2 separate regions of the Homo sapiens genome follow, and region 2 is linked to region 1. The links are contacts of gene promoters, found by promoter capture Hi-C in blood cells and fetal thymus (Javierre and others, 2016). All regions are on one chromosome and are shown on one strand. The core of a region is centred on a gene start or on the middle of the fragment in contact, and the rest is flanking DNA. Distances in the headings are between cores, read along the strand shown. Region 1 holds the start of CABLES2 (Cdk5 and Abl enzyme substrate 2). Region 2 has its middle 6.1 kb from the start of BHLHE23.

Region 1 (3,548 bases), core at 328-2,827:
AGCTGCCTCCTGCCTCCTGCGTCCTGCCCTCCACCCTCACTCGCCCCTTTCTGTTCTCATCTGACACCAGATTCTCTGCAAGCTGCTGGTGTATGGCCCACCCTCCCCTGTCAGGCCCCTCCTCCTGGTGATAGCCAGCAGGGATGGAGGGCCCACTGTGTGCCTGCCCCAGCCTCAGCACCCTACAGCGCTGGACACACTCACTCCCCGCTCACGGGAGCCCCCAGGCACACAAGTCAGCACCCCATTCTGTGGATCCAGAATCCGCAGCCACCCCTCTGCTATGCCACCCAGCCCCGCGTTCTCCTAGACAGGACAGCTGCCCACCTTCCCCTAGGCCTGGCAGAGGCCTTGGAGGCCAACTTGGAAGGGCGGAGGGAAAGGAAATGGAGGTGCTGCATGCTGCGTGAGCCCCAATGGTGGCCCGTGAAGGCCCACAGGAGGGAGCAGGCAGGCGGGAGGTGGGTAGGGGCCTGAAGGGCAGGGGCCCATGCTAGGGGTGGTGATGAAGACCCTGTCTTGCCCACTCGCCCACTGCCTTGTTGGCCATCATGCTGCCTCCCCACACACCAGGTGCTCCTAGGGCCAGCGCTGTGCCTGTCGGTCCCACCGGGTCCCCAGCACCCAGCACAGGAGAGGCTGGGCGCATGCGGGCAGGTGCGAGGTACTGCAGCGCATTCGCGGACTGACCACTGCATGTGCCTGGCCTCCGGCCACAGCCCGACCCCCTCACTGAGCCAGTTTCATCCTGACAGTACCCTGAGGCTGAAATCATTGTCCCCTCTTTAAAGATACGTAAACCCATGAAAGAAAGCTGGACAGAGCAGGCAGGTGACACAGAGGTGGGTGCAAGGTCCTGAGTCCCTCCACAAAGATACAGCGGGTTCCCCTCCAGACTGCAGACAGGCTCCCGGGCTCCAGAGGCAGGCCCTGACCATCCCGGTGCCACGGGCTCACAGGTTCTGAAGTCAGGGGCACCCAGGCACAGAGAGGAAACAGGCCTGGGCACAAGGCAGGCTCAAGGTCACTTTGCTACTGCAGGAAGTGCAGGACTCTGCCTGGGGCTTTGATCCCAAGCAGGTGCCTTCTCCACTCAGACCCTCGTTCCCTTCTGTCAATGAAGGAGGCCAGATGGCACGCGGGCCCTTCCGGGAAGCGGTGGGGCTCCTCCAGGGGCCGCCCTGCGCCCGCTGAAGCGCCGCCCAGACACACCTCCGGACAGGGAAGTGTGCTGGGGCCTCACCCACGCCGCCCTGGGTCCGGAGCCTTAAAATGTGCGCTCGATGGAGGCCATCCGCGAAGGCCGCCATACAGCAAAGGGAACAGAAAGCGAGAGCCCCGCGGCCGCAGGTCCCAAGACGGGGACTCGAACCGGCGGGGAGGCGCGCAGCTCCCGACTCCCTGCTGCTGCGTCCGACCGCCTCTAGGACCCAGGGGAGCGCCCTGAGCGCGGCACCTCGCTGGCCAATGGGAGAGCGCGACGGCGATACATTTGCATGTGGGCGCGCCGCGGCCAATGGGCGGCGGGCGCGCGGGCGCGCGGGCAGGGGGTGGGGCGCTTCGCGGCGGCGGGCGCAGTCTGAGGATGGCCGCGGCCGCGGCCGGTGGAGCCCCGGGCCCGGCCCCCGGCCCCGCCGGGCCCCCGCCACCCGCCGCGCCGACCTCGGCCGCTCGGGCCCCGCCGCAGGCGCTGCGGAGGCGCGGGGACTCGCGGCGCCGCCAGGCCGCGCTTTTCTTCCTCAACAACATCTCCCTGGACGGGCGGCCCCCGAGCCTGGGCCCGGGCGGAGAGAAGCCCCCGCCGCCGCCCGCCGAGGCCCGCGAACCGCCAGCGCCGCCGCCGCCGGAGCCCCCCACCGGGCTGCCCGCCAGGACCCCCGCGCCCCAGGGCCTGCTCAGCCCCACGCAGGTGCCCACCGGCCTCGGCCTGGATGGGCAGCGCCAGAGGTGAGTGGGGGCCCGGCCAGGTCAGCCCAGGACGCGGGGTACAGGGACGGGGACGGGGGCCGGATCAGCCCAGGACTAGGGGTCAGGATTACTTGGGGCCTCATCAGCCCAGGACAAGGGGGTCAGGTGACCTGGGGCCTTGTCAGCCCTGGACAGAGGCCAGGACAAAGGGGTTGGGTTCACCTGGGGCCTTGTCAGCCCTGGACAGAGGTTCAGGTGACCTGAGCCCCTGTCAACCCAGGACACAGGGGTCAGGGTCAGTCTGGGCCCTCATCAGCCCAGGACACAGGGGTTGGGTTCACCTGGGACCTTGTCAGTCCTGGATACAGAACTGGGGGTTCCTGGGCTGGCTGAGGGTTTCCTCAGGCCCTGTCACCCCCCACACATAGGGTTCATTGTCCCCTGAATTCTCCCAGCCCCTGAATACGGGGTCTGGATCTCCACGTTGTCAGTGCTCTGAAATGGGTTTTAGGGTTCAGCCCTTATTACCCCTGAGACCCCCAGCCCTGTGGGTTCTGGACATGCCCCCACCCCCATCCACTGGTACCAGTGCCCGGGACACAGGGACACATGGACAGCCCTGTGCATCTCTTCGCATTCTTTGAACCGGGCCACACCGTCCATGCCCACCTCCTCAGACCCAGCATGTGGGCCGGGGTCCTCCTGGCACTGTCACTGACACCTGTTCCCAGAGGCCCCTGCACAGCCACATCTCCCATCCCACAGCCACTGGTCTCTGGCACCCCTCCTCTCCCTGTCACTTCCCTGCTGAGCCCCGCCCTTCCCCACATCACTCTCAGCTCGGTATCTTTGGGTCTGTCACACCCTGGGTCTCCACTGCTCCCCCTGCCTTGATTCCATTTCTGGGAACCACCTCAGCCCATCCCAGGGCAACCCCAACCATGAGCCCTGCCTGTCCAGCGTGTGCCCCCTGCCCAGATGGCCCCTGGCTGCCCGACACCCTGTGTCCTTCTCCCAGAGACCACAGGACCTGGGTGACCCTGCCTCCCACAGCCCTCACCTCCAGGAGTGACTGTGGGCTCTGGGCCCAGGACTGGCTGCTTGTTGCGGTTCCTTCTCAAAGGGAGCCACTGTCCACAGGTCCAAGTGCCTGCTGGGCGGCTGTTCCCAGAGGCAGCCCCTGCAGGTGTGCAGCAAAGGGGCCGACACAGAGCTCTTGGGTCAAGGCTGGCACGTGCTCCTTGCTTACCTGGAGGTCATCAGAGTTGCCCCACGCCCCTGGCCTTCGGGCAGGTGGAGGCATTGGGTTCCTCTAAGGTCTTTGGTTGGGGAAGTTTGGGCCCAGAACACAGCACTCTGTCCTCAAAGACTATGACGTCACATGCAGGTTGCGTCACACGCAGGTCGCGGTGCACTCCATCCTTGGAAGTGTTCCTGGCCGTAGCCAGGCTGAGGGTGCCTGCAGACCCAGGCCTGTCCACAAGATGTCCCCCCACGGACATGCCTGGCCGCTGCTCCAGGGAGGGTCAGAGGGATGATTGGGGCAGAGGGATGGATTTGCCCAAATGTGGCAGCCAGGCCCCATGCATTTGGCATGGCCAGCTCCTTCAGGAAGGCGGGAGAGATGGAACAAGGTGGTG
Region 2 (3,894 bases), core at 669-3,168, 610 kb before region 1:
GGGAGGGGCTGAGGCAGGACTCTGAGAGGGAGAGGCGTGACCTGACCCTGCCTGAGGAGGACCTCACAGCTGCTGTGTGAAAGGGAGGGTCTGGGGATGATGGGAGGGCAGAAGCCATTAGAAGGCTGCTGTGCTGACTGAGGGCAGGCGGGAAGAGGTGGGGAGCGGCCGCATTCCAGATGAACGTGGGAGGGAGAACCAACAGGGTGTGAGCTGCGAGGAAGCATGATTTGCCCTCAACAGAATCTGGGGGTGGGGGTGGGCGGGTCTGGGGGAGGCCGCAGCTCCATCTGGAACGCGCTGCATCGGAGGCGGCCCTCACACATCTGACATTCTGCGCTCCGCTGAATCCGTGAGTCTGGAGTTCAGCACTGGGGTCTGGGTAGGCTGTGGGAAGGGTATTGGATGAGATCCCCGAGGGGGCAGACACAGCTAGGAAAAAGGCCAAAGGACTGAATCCCAAGCCCTCCAGAATGAAAATGTCGGGGAAAAGAAGAACCGGCAAAGGGGGCTGAGGATGAGTCACCAGGAGGTCACTCTAAGTATTAGCTGAAATAGTGATGATTTTACAAGGGGGAGGAAGGTCTATTGCATGAACTCTAAACTGGTCACCGCAGAATCAATGTTGTTCAAGACTGAAAACAACCATCAGACTTCCAGTTTCTGGTTATTAGGGACTAGTTAATCTGGACCCATCACTTTTCTGATGGTGACTACAAAAGCTGAGCAAAATGTTAAAAATATTTGCTTGGAATGCAAACAAACAAAATCCCAGAAAGACAAAGATCCAGAGTGAAAAAAGCCTTCGGGACGCTCACTTTTCCCCCAAAGCATTTGCTGCTTCAGATAGCTCACAGCCCACTGAGGAGCCAGACAGCGAGAGATTCAGCCCACCTGAGAGTGGGGAGTTGGCGAACATCCCCCCGACCCCCACCATTTTGAGTTGGGACAACAAATAACCGCACCCTAGACATAGGGGTGGATAGAAGGAGACCGGCTCTTGCAGCAACTCAGGGCCTTTTGCACCACTGCCAGGGTAGGAAAACCTAAACTGTAATCATCTTGAAATGATTTCAATCCCTGAAACTAGAGTAAGATGATCCAGGACCCCTAGTGCCCCCATGTCTCGCAGATGCAAACATAAACCCTCTCTGGAGGAAAATAAAATAGACCTCAAATGATTTCTACAAAATAATTTTACAAATACAATGTTCAGTCCACAATAAAAATTCTAGACAATTGAAAAAACAAATCAGCAAGAATGAAAGCAGCAGAGACCATAGGCAGAAGATCTACCAGTCCAGACACTGGAGTCGCGAGACAGAGACTGGAACAAAACTGTGCTTACAGCATTTGCAGAAATAGAGGTGGAATTTAGAATTTCAGCAAAAAAAAAAAAAAAAACCTAGAAAAACCAAATGAAAATTCTAGCACTGAAAAATAAAATCACTTAAATTATAAACTTAGTGGCTTTAATAGCAAATTCAGCTGAAGAGAGAATTAGTGAAGTGGAAAATAGGTCAGTAGAAAATATTCAGAATGAAGTATGGATAATACAAATGGAAAATACAGGTGACAGGTTAAGATACACAAAGGATTCAGGAAGAAGGACCAATATATTTGTAACTGGATCCCAGAGAGGAGATGAGAGAACATGAGGTTGAAGCAATACTCCAGAGTTAATAGCCAGGAAATTTCTAAAAGTAATCAAAATCATCAAGTCACAAATTCAAGAACCCCACAAACCCAAAAAGGATAAATGAAATGAATCAATTTCTAGTCCACTGTGTGAGAAGCTTGGAAACAATCAATCTTTTCACAAGAACAAAACGTGAGCAAACTGAAAGTCAATAATATTTCTTATATTCAACAGATGATGAGGTCACAGGGCAAACCACTGCCCAAAAAAGTTGTAGAGACGACAGACAGATGCAGAGAATCCCAATTCTGCAGAGCAGACACCTCCCTGGGAACCACTGCCAGGTTGGGAAAACCTAAACTGTCACTGGCAGATTGCTGGAGGCTGTGTGGCCAAGCTTGACAGTTAAAAACTCCAGGGCCCAGTCTTAGGGTGGAGGCCACACTTCTGTGAGTTTTACCTGCACAAACTCTACCAGATCCCCCAGGTAAATACCAGAGAAAAATCCCCTTGTGCTTTGGACAAGGGGAGGGGAGAAGTAGCACTTTCGAAATATGCCAGAGCATTCTGTTCTTCCTCTGCCCTCAAGAGAAACTATTTTTAACGTACCAGAGTTTAATCAGAGTCTAACCAACCTGGAGGAAGGGAAGTATCAACTCCAGCTCCCTCCAGTCTTTTATGTTGGGAAGGGAAACACACAGCCCCATTCTCTATCCCTCTTGTCTCATTTAAGAAGGAAAAACAGGATGGGCATGGTGGTTCACACCTGTAATCCCAGCACTTTGGAAGGCTGAGGCGGGTGGATCATCTGAGGTCAGGAGTTCAAGACCAGCCTGACCAACATGGAGAAACCCCGTCTCTACTAAAAATACAAAATTAGCTAGGCATGGTGGTGTGCGCCTGTAATCCCAGCTACTCAAGAGGCTGAGGCAGGAGAATCACTTGAACCCAGAAGGTGGAGGTTGCAGTGAGCCAAGATCATGCCACTGCACTCCAGCCTGGGCTACAGAGAAAGACTCCGTCTCAAAAAAAAACAAAAAAAAAACAAAAAAATGTCCAACTGAAGAAAGTGTTGAGTGAGCTTGTCATGCATTCCTACACAAAGAGTACAACCGCAATATATTCTACAATAGCAAAGCAAAATAAATAAAATCATTCCAAGTAAACTAGCTAAACAGAAAGGCTTTCCAAGAACTGGGCAGCTGTTGGAACCAAGCCAATAGAGGACTGACTGACAGCTCATCAATGGCAGAGACGTGAGCTCTAAAGCTCTCATAGCCTGGGTAATGGTCTGGAACGTAAAATCCCCACAGACTTAGGCTGGCCAGTTGACTATGCCAGGGCAACCCAGAGGTGGAGGAAAGTGGCAATTCTCCACATACCCAACCGTTTATGTGATTATGTAGACAGGCTAAAGTCTGTGCCTACTCAGTAAATAAATCACTCTCTGCATGATTCCAACTTGTGCCTAAAAGTAGAATGCCAATCCAGGTATTTATGCCCCCCATCCCTCTCATTTCTTAGGAACAGGAATCAGAGGTCACTGACTGGCTCACGGGAATAAACGGGATCAGTCTCTTGTGTTCCGTTGGCCTGTGGGGCTTTATAAGAGACAGGTTTAATTTGAGATAAGTGGACCCAGCTGTTTATTCCCAGAAGTTTAACTGTAGTTGGGGTACTAAGGAGAACTTGATAGAGTCCCCTCCACTTGGGGGGAAAGTTGATCTGCTGAGGATCCTTCCTTCCAAGTTTGCAATAGGACCCAGTCTCCCAGCTGGGTTGGAACCAGATTGTCTTCCTCAGTGGGGGAAGGGAGTCTCTGATTTCCATAGTCAAGGAGTGCGTTTTGCACTTGTCCTAAGTTGATCACATAATTCTGTAGCTTGAAAGTATCTATGTCTATTAGGAGGTCTGTAGTTAAGAAAGGCCTTCTATACATTATTTCAAAAGTGCTGAGATGCAGATTTCCCTTAGGGGCCATTCGAACCCGTAATAAGGCTACAGGTAATAAAGACCTCCAGGTTTCTGATGTCTCTTGGCATAGTTTAGCAAGAGTCCTTTTTAGAGTTTGATTAGCTCTTTCTACTTTCCCCAAAGACTGTGGCCTCCGTGCCGAGTCAAGGCGGCACTGAATTCCTAGGGCTGAAGATGTGTTTCGGGTAACTGTCGCTGTGAAAGGTGAGCCATTATCGCTCTGTAAGCTCTTAGGCAGCCCAACTCTAGGAATTATTTCCTTTAGTAGGAGTTTAGAAACC

Evidence for each region. The method cuts DNA at HindIII sites, captures the fragments that hold promoters and counts their contacts. A CHiCAGO score of 5 or more calls a contact.
Region 2: a fragment that was not itself captured here is called in contact with the fragment with the promoter of CABLES2 in region 1 in 1 of 17 cell types (total B cells); the score reaches 5.0 in total B cells.

What each region holds. Positions count from the first base shown.
Region 1 is chr20:62,405,314-62,408,861 of GRCh38, reverse strand. It overlaps CABLES2 (Cdk5 and Abl enzyme substrate 2), which reads left to right and starts at 1,577. Exons shown (of 10, transcript NM_031215.3): 1 at 1,577-1,947. The coding sequence starts at 1,586. It overlaps LOC105372709 (a long non-coding RNA gene), which reads left to right and starts at 1,968. Exons shown (of 2, transcript XR_936967.3): 1 at 1,968-3,548. RefSeq lists a silencer at 1,411-1,660. The HindIII fragment of the contact is 20,791 bases long and covers 1-3,548 here.
Region 2 is chr20:63,011,069-63,014,962 of GRCh38, reverse strand. No RefSeq gene overlaps it. Among named protein-coding and RNA genes, the nearest start is that of BHLHE23, 6.1 kb to the right of the region's middle. RefSeq lists an enhancer at 1,876-2,025. The HindIII fragment of the contact is 240 bases long and covers 1,799-2,038 here.